Linked DNA regions of Homo sapiens: all the other regions are linked to region 4. Evidence: promoter capture Hi-C in human tissues and cell types (Jung and others, 2019). All regions are on one chromosome and are shown on one strand. Each heading gives the region's core, a stretch centred on a gene start or on the middle of the fragment in contact. The rest is flanking DNA. Distances are from core to core; before and after follow the strand shown. Region 1 overlaps ZNF556 (zinc finger protein 556). Region 2 has its middle 20 kb from the start of ZNF77. Region 3 overlaps ZNF555 (zinc finger protein 555). Region 4 holds the start of GNG7 (G protein subunit gamma 7).

Region 1 (3,380 bases), core at 740-3,239, 180 kb before region 4:
GGGGTGTTACAAAATTCTTGTAGCCTTATAAAAACCCTAAAGAACATTGCAATCAGGGCTCTTGAGCTGCCCGCTAGGGCCGGCTCCCGCTCCGTGGAGTGTACTTTCATTTAAATAAATCTGCGCTGTCATTGCTTTGTGTGTTTTGTTCAATTCTTTGTTCAATGCGTCAAGAACCTGGACATCTCACAGTCAGCACTTTCCATCTGGTACCAATTTGTACAATGAGAGGAATGTAGGGAAGGAGTGATCAAATAAGCTAACTGTGATTGTGAAATGACACGAAGTCTTTGCAGTGCTATCAAGACTATTTTTTTTTTGAGGTGGAGTTTCGCTTTTGTTGCCCAGGCTGGAGTGCAGTGACGCCATCTCGGCTCGCTGCAACCTCCGCCTCCCGGGTTCAAGCAATTCTCCTGCCTCAACCTCCCAAGTAGCTGGGATTACAGGCACGCACCACCATGCCCAGCTAATTTTTGTATTTTTAGTAGAGACAGCGTTTCTCCATGTTGGTCAGGCTGGTCTCGAACTCCCGACCTCCGGTGATCTGCCCACCTCAGCCTCCCAAAGTGCTGGGATTACAGGCGTGAGCCACTGCGCCCGGCCCGCTATCAAGACTATTAACATTGAAAATGGACACAGACTGGATTTCATTTGCCTTTAATTAAACACAAAGCTGTTACATATTTTTCTCTTCTAATAGCTGCTGGAAGTCTAAGCATATGGAAACGATACCTATGAAAATCAAATGGACATTTTGGGCTTTGTGGATCATTAAAGGTTTACACTTAAAAATTATTTTTTAATTAAAAAAATAAAAATTAATTAAAGGATGACAAATACATTGGGATGTTACTCAAAATGATAATCCTGTCTGCAGCTCACTTCAGTTATTCCTTGACTAGTTCTCTCACCGTCCATAGATTTTATCCTCACCAGGAAATCATGGCACACTTGCCTAGATATCACTGTGCACATGGGAAAACACTCGCAACGGGCTACAACTGTGCAGATGACCATAACTCTTCCTCACCCTGTGAGGAACTCTAGTTTTCTGCAGAACACAATTTTTCCATCAGTGTGTAGGGGCAGCAAAGTGACAATGCCAAATATATAAGGCAATTTAAAATTATTTCACAAAGGTATTAAAAACAAACACCCACATTGTGGTTCAAATCCAGATGAAGTACCTGGTCCCAGATGCCAATGTCCAAACTCATAAAAACATATGACATGGGCCTGGTGCGGTGGCTCACGCCTGTAATCCCAGCTCTGCGGGAGGCCAAGGCGGGCAGATCACGAGGTGAAGAGATCGAGACCATCCTGGCCAACAAGGTGAAACCCCACCTGTACTAAAAATACAAAAAATTAGCTGGGCGTGGCGGGGCACGCCTGTATTCCCAGCCACTTGGGAGGGTGAGGCAGGAGAATCGCTTGAACCTGGGAGGTGGAGGTTGCAGTGAGCTGAGATCGCACCACTGCACTCCAGCCTGGCAACAGAGCAAAACTCCGTCACACACATTCACACACACACACACACACACACACACACACACACTATATATATATATATATAAAATGTATACATCATGCCCTAAAATTTTTAATATTTGCAGAAATGAGGCTGAACCATAAATATACCTTTTGTCTCTTTTTTTTTTTGAGACAGAGTCCCACTCAGTCGCCCAGGCTGGAGTGTAGTGGTTCGATCTCTGCTCACTGCAAGTTCCGCCTCCTGGGTTCACGCCATTCTCCTGCCTCAGCCTCCCGAGTAGCTGGGACTACAGGCACCTGCCACCACGCCCAGCTAATTTTTTGTATTTTTTACTAGAGACAGGGTTTCACCGGGTTAGCCAGGATGGTCTTGATCTCCTGACCTCGTGATCCACCCGCCTCAGCCTCCCAAAGTGCTGGGATTACAGGCGTGAGCCACCGCGCCCGGCCAGGGAAATAATTATTGTTTCTTTTTTTCTTTTTAATTTGACACACGGTCTCATTCTGTCACCCTGGCTGGAGTACAGTGGCAAGATAACTCATTGCAGCCTGGACCTCTTGGTCTCAAGCCATCCTCCACCCTCAGCCTCCTGAGTAGCTGGCTCTACAAGTGCACATCACCATGCCTAGATACTTTTAAAAATTTCTTTTTATAGAGACTGTGTCTCACTATGTGCCCAGACTGGCCTTGAACTCCTGTGCTCAAGTGATCCTCCTGCCTCAGCCTCCCGAAGCTTTGGAATTACAAGTGTGAGCCACTGCCCCTGGTCCTGCCGTTATTTCTGTATTACTGCTCACTATTTCCTAACTCATGAGCAGTTCTTGAAATAGTATTAAAAAAAAAGAAATAGTATTTAAGACATATTACATGGTGGAACTATAAATGAATTCATGATGAGATTGTCACTTACTGAAGCCCGATCCTTTATTCTGCATTCCCTATTATCTACCTTGTCAAGTTTGATACTATACTTTATTCTGCCTTGATATTATCCAAAAAAAAAATTTTTTTTTTTTTGAGATGGAGTCTTACTCTTGTCGCCCAGGCTGGAGTGCAGTGGCGCAATCTTGGCTCACTGCAACCTCTGCCTCCCGGGTTCAAGCGATTCTCCTGCCTCAGCCTCCCAAGTAGCTGGGATTACAGGCGCCTGCCACCACGCCTGGCCAATTTTTTGTATTTTTAGTAGAGACAAGGTTTCACCATGTTCACCATGTTGGCCAGCGTGGTCTCGAACTCCTCACATCAGGTGATCCACCCGCCTCGGTGGGTCCTGGGATTACAGGCGTGAGCCATTGCTACTGGGCTCCAATAAAGTTTAAACTTGTTTTATTAGTTATCTTTTTATGTCTTTTGCTAGACTTATTTAATACTTAAATTTATAAAACCGTTACGTAAGTTTTTGTCATTATGAATAAACAAGAATTTATTAGGCTGGGCGCGGTGGCTCACGCCTGTAACCCCAGCACTTTGGGAGGCCGAGGTGGGCAGATCACAAGGTCAGGAGATCGAGACCAGCCTGGCCAGCATAGTGAAACCCCGTCTCTACTAAAAATACAAAAATTAGCCGGGTGTGGTGGCGGGTGCCTGTAATCCCAGCTCTTCAGGAGGCTGAGGTAGGAGAATCACTTGAACCTTGGCGGGGGGGTTGCAGTGAGCCAAGATCACGGCACTGCACTCCAGCCTGGGTAACAGAGCGAGAATCTGTCTCAAAAAAAAAAAAAAGAATTTCTTAGACAAAATTATAACAGTATAGGAAACAAATGTACTAGAAAGAAAATGTCTAAATCTGAATGCATCTGGTAATATTAATTCAGAAGTATAATTCTTTTTTTTGAGACGGAGTCTCGCTCTGTCACCCAGGCTGGAGTGCAGTGTCGCAATCTTGGCA
Region 2 (3,523 bases), core at 576-3,075, 220 kb before region 4:
AGGTGGCTACGCGGCTGTGGGGTGGCTGTGGCCGTGGTCGGCGGGTGTCCGTGGAACATGGACCCAACCACTCTTTTTCCAGCTCTTTCTCCCGGCAGCCGCAACTGTGCTCCCGAGAGGGTGCAGGTGCGGGTCTTTAATGAGGCTTGTTGGGAAGAAGTCGTGGAACTGGGTTGTTATGGGAGCTGGAGAGTCGAAACTGGCCTGAAGCCAAGTCCTCGGCTGATGCTTGAGGATTAGGACCCCCCACTAGGAAGGGTCCCCCTTTGGGAGAACTGGAGTGCGCTTTTAGGTTTTCAAAACCACAGCATCTCCAAAGATCTGACCCTGGGGACGTGAATAAACTGAAATCTCACAGAAGCGTTCTTAGCAGGCGCGGCCCGAAAGGGCATTTCCTAACATCAGTACAGGCAAATTTGGGGCATGAGCCCTCCTTCCTCAGACCTTCAGTGCTTCCTGAGTATCCAAAGGTGGTAAAAGAAACGTTGCACGTTTTCTTTTCTTTTCTTTCATTTTAATTATTTATTTATTTATTTATTGAGATGGAGTTTCGCTCTTGTTGCCCAGGCTGGAGTGCAGTGGCGCTATCTCGGGCTCACCGCAACCTCCGCCTCCCAGGTTCAAGCGATTCTCCTGCCTCAGCCTCCCGAGTAGCTGGGATTATAGGCACCTGCCACCACGCCCGGCTAATTTTTTGTATTTTTGTGGAGACGGGGTTTCACCATGTTGGTCAGGCTGGCCTTGAACTCCTGACCTCACGTGATCCGCCCACCTCGGCCTCCCAAAATGCTGGGATTACAGGCGTGATCCACCGCGCCCAGCCACATTGCATGTTTTCAAAGTTCAGGAGAGTTTACATTTTCTCTTAGTAAGCGAAAGCGGTTTGTTGTTGTTGATTATTTTTAATATACATACAGTAAGACTATTTTAAGCGTATTTCTATGAGTTTTCATAAATGCATATTTACACCACCAAAACAGAGAACATTCTATCACTCCCCAAATACTCTTGGATTGCCCAATTGTACTCAACCTTTCACCCCTAACCACTGATCTGCTTTAGCCACCTGTATCTTTGCCTTTTCCAGAATGTCATGTTACGTGAAATATGTAGCCTTTTGAGCCCTGTTTGTAAAATTCGATGCCATATTTGTAAAATTAGCTAATTATACTTGTCATTTATTGATTGATTGAGACAAGGGTCACATCCTGTCACCTAGGCTGGAGTGGGAGGGGCACAGTCATAGCTCACTGCTGCCTCAAACGTCTGGGCTTAAGTGATCCTCCCGCCTCAGCCTCCCCGGTAGCTGGGACTCCAGGCATGCAGCACCATGCCTTGCTAATTAAAAAAAATTTTTTTAGTAGAGACAAGGTCTCCTTATGTTGCCCAGGCTGGCCTCGAACTCCTGAGCTCAAGCAATCCTCCCACTTTGGCCTCCCGAAGTGCTGGGTTTACAGGTGTGAGCCATGGCGCCCAGCCTATTATTGTCTTGTAGAATTTTCAGTTTAAAAACATTTGACAGGCTGGGCACAGTGGCTCACACCTGTAATCCCAGCATTTTTGGGAGGCCGAGGTGGGCGGATCACCTGAGGTCAGGAGTTGGAGACCAGCCTGACCAATACGGAGAAACCCCGTCTCTACTAAAAATACAAAAAGTTGGCCGGGCATGCCTGTAATCCCAGCTACTCAGGAGGCTGAGGCAGGAGAATCGCTTGAACCCAGGAGGCAGACGTTGCGGTGAGCCGAGATCGCGCCATTGCACTCCAGCCTGGGCAACAAGAGCGAAGCTCCGTCTGGAAAAAAAAAAAAAAAAACAATCGACAGAGCTAAGTATAAGAGGTGGCAGATAACAGGCCTTCAAAACTGAGAGGTTAAATTACTATGTTTACATCAAGATATGTGAGTTAAGGTTAAGATTCTGTGTTCCTTGTGCTTAACTTTCTTCATTTGTATGATGGGAGGGAAGCTGGGAACAGGAGGTGCAATGAGATGGTAAGTCATATTAATCTCTGCAGTACTTAACATCGAGAAATTGACAGAATTTCATTTGCTTTCCTCATTAACAAAATGCAAAGCTATTGGCCAGGGGTGGTGGCTCTCAACTTTAATCCCAGAGCTTTGGGAGGCTGAGGCAGGAGGATTACTTGAGTCCAGGAGTTCCAGACCAGCCTGGTCAACATAGTGAGACCTCATCTCTACAAAGAAACAACGCCCCCCACCACACGCACACAGAAAGCTATTACATTTTCTTCTCTTTCCTGTGAGCCCATTTGGTGGAAGTGCAAACTTATGAAAATCATATCTTTGAAAAGCAAAATGGGCTTTTTGAGCTTTGCAGATTATTAAAACACAAAACTTCCATCCACTCTTATGAAAATGCCTTTAAAATTTCCCAGTTTCAGGATGTCAAGTGTACTGGGGGGCCTCAAGGCCACCCCCAGTGGTTCAGTGATTTGTTAGGGGTACTGAAGGGAACTGGCATATAGTCAGCCTTACAGCTAAGACTTATTACAGTGCAAGGAAACAGAGCCAACTATTAGCAAAGGGATGAGGCACATGGGGTGAAGTCGGGGAAACCAGGAATGAGCTTCCAAGGGTCCTCCCTGGTTGGCAGCGTACAAGATGCTTTTACTGCCCGGGAAACTAATTGTAACAGCATGTGTGACTATTTACCAACCTGAGAAGCTCAATAGATACTCTGCCAGGGTTTTTTTTTATTGCCAGCTGGTTATGATGCACTCACTGCTTGGCAAATACCAAGATTCCAGATGCCTGGAATGAATGGTGTTTTGCATAAACCATATTGCTTGTGCAATTTTGACACAGCTGACCTTGTAAACGGGCCTTTCAAGGGATAGCACTCAGGCCTGTTTTGCTAAGTTTTTTGCAGTGCAGCCTATTGGCCCCTGCTTTACAACAAAATAATCATCAGTAAGACCGTCACAGCATGGGGGTAATGAGCTTGCAGGAATGATTCCAGCTATGCCCTTTAGGGGTTTCGGACTTAGTTAAAATAAAGGTCTATTTTAGAAAGCCACCTGGCTTCCTCCTTAAACTTGTGTATGAATCCTTTTTACCTGTCCTAACTTACCAAGTGTGTGGTAGAGCAGAACTCTTGCCAGTAATTTGAAGCTTCCACAGCTCAGACGGTGTTGCAATAGGTTCCACACCTGATTACAGTCCCACAGGACACACAAGGTACTGCCGGAAACTGAGTTTACAATTGTCAGGGCAACCTAAGCAAGACATCCATTAGTCAGCAGTGAAGGTTAACAGACACTCAGCGCGGACTCCCCCTGTAGGGAGAATTCTCAGTCCTGTCCAATGAGGTTAGTTGAGTCCCCGATTTCAGAGGGACTGCCTGAGGCAGTCAGTTCCACATGGTTTGCTTGTCTATGACCACAGATCATCACTTTCACCACTGTGGCCCTAAGGGTGTTCTGCAGGGCAGGAATAGCAGCTGGGTGGCTCCCTCACGGCGTGTCAGGGTGGTCTAGGCTCAGCAGTCAGTTTGCGTTCAAAG
Region 3 (3,410 bases), core at 689-3,188, 150 kb before region 4:
GCTTCAGCCTGCCAAGTAGCTGGGACCACAGACGTGCACCACCCCGCCTGGCTCACTTTTTAATTTTTTGGTAGAGTTGAGGTCTCGCTATGTTGCCCAGACTGGTGTCTAGCTCCTGACTTCAAGTGATCCTCTTGCCTCAGTCTCCCAAAATGTTGAGATTACAGGCATGAGTCACCGCGCCCAGCTAGGGAAAAGTCTTATTGCGAACTTACATGTCAAGTTTCAGGAATGTTTTGTATTCCTTTTTTTTTGAGACAGGGTCTTGCTCTGTCGCCCAGTGTAGAGTGCAGTGCATGATCATAGTTCACTGCAGCCTCAACCTCCTGGCCACAAGCAATCCTCCCGCCTCAGCTTCCCAAAGTGCTGGGATTATAGGCATGAGCCACTGCACCTGGTCTTGAGTTCTTTAATAAACTGAAAGCATTTTTATTGTTTAACTTTAAAATATACATACAACAAAATTTGCTATTTTAAGAGTAGCCTTATGAGTTTTTGCAAATGCTTGTTTTCACCACTACAATCATGACAGAACACTCTTAAGCCCATATGTACTCAAATCCCCTACTTCTAACCAGCGATTTGTTCGTTTCCCTTATCTTTGCCTTTTCCATGTCTTATAAAAGGAATACCATATAGCCTTAGGAGTCTTTGTAAAATTTGATGCCCTATTTGTAAAATTAATTATACTTGCTTTCCAGTGTTCTAAATTTAAGTCTTGACAATGCCCAATATAGGTTAAGCACAGGTTAAGCCTTCAAACTTGATTCCATCATCATGAGCTACATGAATATACAAGACTCTGTTGTCCCCGTGCTTAACTTTTTTCATCTAAGAGGGAATGATGGGTAAGTGGGTGTTAAGAAATACAAGTGACTGCCAAATCACATTCATCTATAGAGCGTTATGAAAACTTATGTTAACATGGAAAGTAATGGAGATTACTGGATATTGTTTGCTCTTTAATAAAACTCTAAGGTGTTACATGTTTTTCCTCTTCCCTAGTTAATTCTGGAAGTTCAGAGGTTGAAATGATACCTGAGAAAACTTAAATAGGCTTTTGGGGCTTTCTGGCTCATTAAAACAAAAGCTTCTGCCTCCTTGGCCTATAAAACACATGAAAAATTTTCTCGTTTGAGGATGTCAAACATGTCTTCTTTTTTTCCGGAACTCACCTCTAAACCACAAAAACCATCAAACATTCCCCTCTTCTCCCCCATATGACTGGCTGCTGTGGCTTTACTGATTAGTTTTCAGCTCCAATTAACTTCTGCTTTGTAGATGAGAACTTTGGGAGTTCCCAGAGAATTATATTCATGACCTGAGAACATCCAATCCAGACCAAAGCCTGGCTTCCTTGAACGCTCACCAAAATCACAGAACACAAGGCCAAATCTGATAGTAAATCCTTTTAAACACCCTCTGATACAAGCCACAGCCCTTTCTTGATCATGTGTTCAAACTTCAACTCAACACAGCAAATTTTCTTTGACTACCAGTGTGATCCTGGTGGTTTCTGGGTAGAGGGCCTTGACAAAACCATTATTTCCGCTTTTTAATTGTTATTAACCACAAATAAGAAATCATTTTAGGCCGGGTGTGGTGGCTCATGCCTGTAATCCCAACACTTTGGGAGGCCAAGGTGGGCAGATCACCTGAGGTCAGGAGTTCAAGACCAGCCTGGCCAACATGGTGAAACCCCATCTCTACCAAAAATAAAAAAATTAGCTGGGTGTGGTGGTGCATGCCTGTAATCCCAACTACTCGGGAGGCTGAGGCAGGAGAATCAACTGAACCTGGGAGATGAAGGTTGCAGTGAGCTAAGGTCGTGCCACTGCACTCCAGCCTGGGTGACAGAGCGAGACTCTGTCTCAAAAAAAAAAAATCATTTTAATGGCAAATGTTAAGTATACAGCAATTAAAAATAACATTTATATGAAAAAATACCTGTATTTGTATATACTTGGTAATACTGATTCAAAATGTAACATGCTTAAATTATCAAAATTACAAAGTTGATTTGAAATCTGTAATTCTCTCGGTAAACAAAAAATAACATTTCTTAGTGTTATGGGTTGAATTGGGTCTCCTAAAATTTTTACGTTGAAATCTTAATTCGCGGTGCCTCAGTATGCGAAAAGAGAGCTGTTGCCAATGTAATTAGTTAAGGTAAAATCATACTGAAGTAGAGTGGGGCCTAACCCAATGAGTGGTGTGTATGTATAAAAATATTGTCACATGGAGAGACACACACACAGGGAGAATGCCATGTGAAAATTAGAGTTATGCTGCCACAAGCTAAGGAACTACCAGAAGCTAGGTGAGTTCTGAAACAGATCCTTCCCTAGCATCTTCAGAAAAAGCATGGTCCTGCCAATGCCTTGTTTCTGGATTTCTGGGTCCAGAACTGAGAAACAAAAAGTTTGTTTTCCTATGTCACCCAGTTTTTGTACTTTGTTATGGCAGCCCTGGGAAATTAATATAGTCTCTAAACAACTAATTTGAAAGCACAGTAAATAGGATTTTTTTTTCTTTTCTTGCTTGTGTGATGGAGTCTTTCCCCGTCTCCCAGGCTGGAGTGCAGTGGTGTGATCTTGGCTCACTGCAACCTCCGCCTCCTAGGTTCAAGCACTTCTCCTGTCTCAGCCTCCCAAGTAGCTGGGGTTACAGGTACTCACCACCATGCCTGGCTAATTTTTGTGTTTTTAGTAGAGACAGGGTTTCACCATGTTAACCAGGCTGGTCTCAAACTCCTGACCTCAAGCCTCCCAAAGTGCAGGGATTACAGGCATGAGCTACTGTGCCCAGCTAAACAGGATATTTCTAAGAAATATCTACAGAAGGTTTTCCTTGAAACAAAATCCACATTATTTTTAATGATACATAATCAAACCTAATAATTTAACCTATATCAAGAAACTGCATTTAGTTCTGAGTAACAGAAATCTCCCTAAATCTAATATATGAGGAAGGTATTTGTTCTCACATAGGACTCGGCAGGCACACTTAAAAATGCAATAGGGTACAAAGTCCCATGTGTTGTTTTTCTTCTTTGACTGCAACACTGTGGCTTTCGTGGTGGAATCAGGATCACAGAGCCACTGGAAGTATTAAGATAACAAGGTGTTCACTATATAAATTAGACCCCATGCAAATATGTTAAGATCTACAGAACGGGAGAATCAGAAGCTCAGAGACTGCCAAACAAGACAGTCTGAATCAGTGGTCAAGAGGTCATGCAGGGTTTTGAGAAAAATCCAGACTCTAGGTGACTGACCACACAGGAATATCCCTAATATCAAGTTAATGGAGATGTCTGAGGAAGACTACACCTCTGACACAGTGGAAATCAAGCACTTAAGTGTTTCTTTTGATGGTACTCTTGATTGGCAGGAATAAGAATCTGGAAA
Region 4 (3,485 bases), core at 148-2,647:
TTCCTCTTGGGGGATGCCAGCTGGGGAGAGCCTGGAGGAGGGCAAGCAGGGAGATGGAGGTTTCTCTGTGCCCTGCAGGGCAGGCCACTGGAGTCCAGAGGATGAGCAGGGAGGTTCTTGCAGGGATGACAGGAACCCTGGGGAAGTTTATCTTGGATTTTGGCCAGCAGCTCCAATCCCAGGGCTCAGGTGGGGCGGCAAGGACACACAGTGTCAGCGCCTGATGAAATCCCTGAGGTCACAGAATATGGTGGCTCCATCTTCCTTCCAGGGCTGTGTACTGCTTTTGGAGACATACAAAGTGTTTTCCAATATTCCCAAGGGAGCTTGTGGAAAATGAAGATTCCAGGCCTGTAATCCAAGCATTTTGGGAGGCAGAGGCAGGAGAATCACTTGAGCCCAGGAGTTCAAGACCAGTTTGGGCAACATAGCAAGACCCCATCTCTAACAAAAAAAAATTAGCCAGGGCCAGGCACGGTGGCTCACGCCTGTAATCCCAGCACTATGGGAGGCCAAGAAAGGTGGATCACCTGAGGTCAGGAGTTGGAGACCAGCCTGGCCAAAACGGTGAAACCCTGTCTCTACTAATAATACAAAAATTAGCTGGATGTGGTGGTGCGTGCCTGTGGCCCCAGCTACCCGGAAGGCTGAGGTGGAAGGACTGCTTGAGCCTGGGACTTCAAAGCTGCAGTGAGCTATGACTGCACCACTGCAGTCCAGCCACGGCAATTGAGTGATACCCTGTCTCAAAAACAAAACGAAAACTAAACAAAACACAGATTTCAGGGTCCAGTTCCCTATAGGATTCTGGTTCATTCCATCTGTGTTGGGGCTCAGGAATTTGTGGATCCAGGGCCATGAGTTAGGAAACTGAGAAATCTTGGAAATGATGAGACAGGCTTGGGCAAATGACCTTAGGTTTCACCTTTCTGAGACCCAGTTTCCACCTCTGTAAAATGTGGATAGTAATCTCGCCTTCTGGCCTTATGCGGAGGGTCCCACGAGAGGGAGCCTATAAAGTCTTCAAGAAAGCGGTGCAGCAGTTATGATCACTGACATTCTTCCCCAGCAAATGAGCCCCCGGAGCTGGCATGCAGGATTCGAACCAGCTCACCTAGCGCGGGATTCGAACTCGCGAAACTACTCGCGCCTTCCTGACGTCACGAAGTCACCCTGGAAAGCCGCTCTTCGCCCCGCCCCCGGCCCCGCCCGCGCCCGGAGCCCCGCCCCACTCTCCTGGGCGCAGCCTACCCCGCTGCCTGCCCCGCGCCCCGCCCCCGCTCCGGCCTCCCGCAGCCGGGGCTCGCGATTGGCCTTGCCGGGACGCCAGGGCCCGCCCCCCGAGTGTCGGCCCCGCCCCCGCAGAGGGGAGCGAGCGCTCGCGGGCCGGGGCGGAGGGTTCGGCTGCGCGGCGGGGCTGAGGCGGCCGCGGGGCCCGAGCGCAGGTAAGGGCGCCCGCGAACCGGGCCAGGGGAAGTGAGGGCGCGGCCGGCGTCCCGGAGAGGGGACTGGGACAGCTCGGATTCGGCTGCGGACCGAGTTGGGGGTCGGAGTCGGCTGAGGAGGGGGGCTGGGTCTGGGGACCCGGGCTGCAACTGGAGGCTGGGGTTGGAATTGGGGACGGGGCTGCGCTTAGGGGGTCGAAGTTAGCTGGGGAGGGGCTGGGGTTGGGGATTGGGACTGCACTTGGGGCTCAGGGCTAGCTGGGGAGGGGGCGGGAGTTGCAGGTCGAGGTTAGCTGGGGACGGGGCAGGGGGTGCAGATCGAGGTTAGCTGGGGAAGGATTGGGTCTGGGCATTGGGACTCCACTTAGAAATCAGGGCCAGCTGGGGAGGAGGCTGGAGTTGCAGGTCCAGGTTAGCTGGGGAGGGGGCTGGAGGTGGGATTGGAGGTCTGAGTTAGCTGAGGAGGGGGCTGGGGGTGAGACTGGAGGTCTGAGTTATCTGGGGAGGGGACTGGAGTTGCAGGTCGAGGTTAGCTGGGGAGGGAGCTTGGAGCGGGATTGGAGGTCTGAGTTGGCTGGGGAGGGGTCTGGAATTGCAGGTCCAGGTTAGCTAGGAAGGGGCTGGTGGTGGAATTGGAGGTCTTGAGTTTGCTGGGGAGGGGGCTAGAGTCGCAGGTCGAGGTTAGCTGCCGAGGGGGCTTGGAGTGGGATTGGAGGTCCAAGCTAGCTGGGGAGGGGGCTGGAATTGTAGGTCGAGGTTAGCTGGGGAGGGGGCTGGAAGTGGAATTGGAAATCTGAGTTAGCTGGGGAGGACGCTGGGGATGGTGTTGGGGGTTGAGGTTAATTGGAGCGGGGAACAGGGGTTGAGTCAAGGGTGCAGCTTCTTTGAAGAGGGAGCTGGGAGTGGGGTTGAGGTTTGCAGGGAGCTGGAGAGGGGGCTGGGGATGGAGTTTGAAGTGGGGTTCATTGGAGAGGGGGCTGCAGAGGGAATTAGATGTTGAGGTTGTCTGGGGAGAGGACTGAGGAATGGGGTTGGTGAAGATGGGGGGGTGTGATTGACGGCCCAGGGGTTAGGGTTAGCTGAAAAGGGGCAGAAGGACAAAGCTGGGGTGAGCCAGGGAGTGGCTGGAGCATACAGGTGGGGGTCAGGCTTGTTCCAGAAAGGGTCTGGGGGCTATCAGGGGAAATGGGGAGCTTGTGAGTGTGTGGGGTGGAAGGGGGTTCAGGGAGAAGGAAGTTGGGGTGAGTTAGTGAGAAGGGAGGTGGGGGTAAGGTCCCAGGCTGGAGACACCTGGGGGCAGGTGTTTTGCTAGACATTGACTAATCAGGAGGAAAACGGGGTGTGGGGAGGTGTCTCAGGTAGGATCCAGTTAAAAGGAATTTGGAGAGGACTCACCCCTCTACTTTTGGGGGAGATGTTAATTGTTTGCTCTAGAACTGGGCACGGGGCAGAACCCCCTGGGGAACAGTGAGTTGAAGGAGACGGGAGTTCGGAATACTTTTTGAGGTTTATTTCTAGGATATAGGGTGCCAAGGAGAACGCTTCAGGAAGGAGAAAGGCTCCTGTCGGTGACTGAATTTTTCAGGAACTAAAGTGGGAGTTTTTGGGACGGTGCTATTGAGCGACGTGGGTGGCACTTTATTTTTCCTGGGGAGCGGGGGTTGCTAGGGGTTGGGAGGTGGGCGGTGGAAGACAGGCTTGATGAACAGAGGCAGCGGATCCCCAGCTAAGCGTCTTCACACGGTTGCTAGGTGTCAGCGAGGCAAATGCCAAGTTCACAAACTTGTTCCCGTCGTGGGATGCTGCGATCTTGCCTTGATGGAGTGTCGGGGGCCTCTGGGAGGTGCGCCTGTGTGTGTTCCGACCCAGCCTCTCGCTGCGGATTTGGCTGTATCATCTTTTGGAGGTGTTGTTTACTCCCCTGCAAAGCGGGAATAATAAAAACAGTAGCATGTGCCTCTCAGGGTCGAATTACGGGATGTATGCATGGACTATTTCCTAGCATATAGTGAGGGTACCTGAAGCATGGAGAATAATGGA

What was found. The method cuts DNA at HindIII sites, captures the fragments that hold promoters and counts their contacts. A contact is called where the count stands out against the background at its distance.
Region 1: a fragment that was not itself captured here is called in contact with the fragment with the promoter of GNG7 in region 4 in 3 of the 25 tissues and cell types used here (dorsolateral prefrontal cortex, liver and pancreas).
Region 2: a contact is called between a fragment that was not itself captured here and the fragment with the promoter of GNG7 in region 4, in 1 of the 25 tissues and cell types used here (aorta).
Region 3: a fragment that was not itself captured here is called in contact with the fragment with the promoter of GNG7 in region 4 in 2 of the 25 tissues and cell types used here (dorsolateral prefrontal cortex and lymphoblastoid cells).

Annotation. Positions count from the first base shown.
Region 1 is chr19:2,880,707-2,884,086 of GRCh38, reverse strand. It overlaps ZNF556 (zinc finger protein 556), which reads right to left. Exons shown (of 4, transcript NM_024967.3): 4 at 642-3,380. Among named protein-coding and RNA genes, the nearest start is that of ZNF556, 15 kb to the right of the region's middle. The HindIII fragment of the contact is 5,975 bases long and covers 1-3,380 here.
Region 2 is chr19:2,922,896-2,926,418 of GRCh38, reverse strand. No RefSeq gene overlaps it. Among named protein-coding and RNA genes, the nearest start is that of ZNF77, 20 kb to the left of the region's middle. The HindIII fragment of the contact is 8,567 bases long and covers 1-3,523 here.
Region 3 is chr19:2,854,686-2,858,095 of GRCh38, reverse strand. ZNF555 (zinc finger protein 555) reads right to left here. Exons shown (of 4, transcript NM_152791.5): 4 at 1-3,410. Among named protein-coding and RNA genes, the nearest start is that of ZNF556, 11 kb to the left of the region's middle. The HindIII fragment of the contact is 5,176 bases long and covers 1-3,410 here.
Region 4 is chr19:2,700,606-2,704,090 of GRCh38, reverse strand. It overlaps GNG7 (G protein subunit gamma 7), which reads left to right and starts at 1,397. Exons shown (of 5, transcript NM_052847.3): 1 at 1,397-1,445. RefSeq lists a silencer at 1,112-1,501. The HindIII fragment of the contact is 6,266 bases long and covers 1-3,485 here.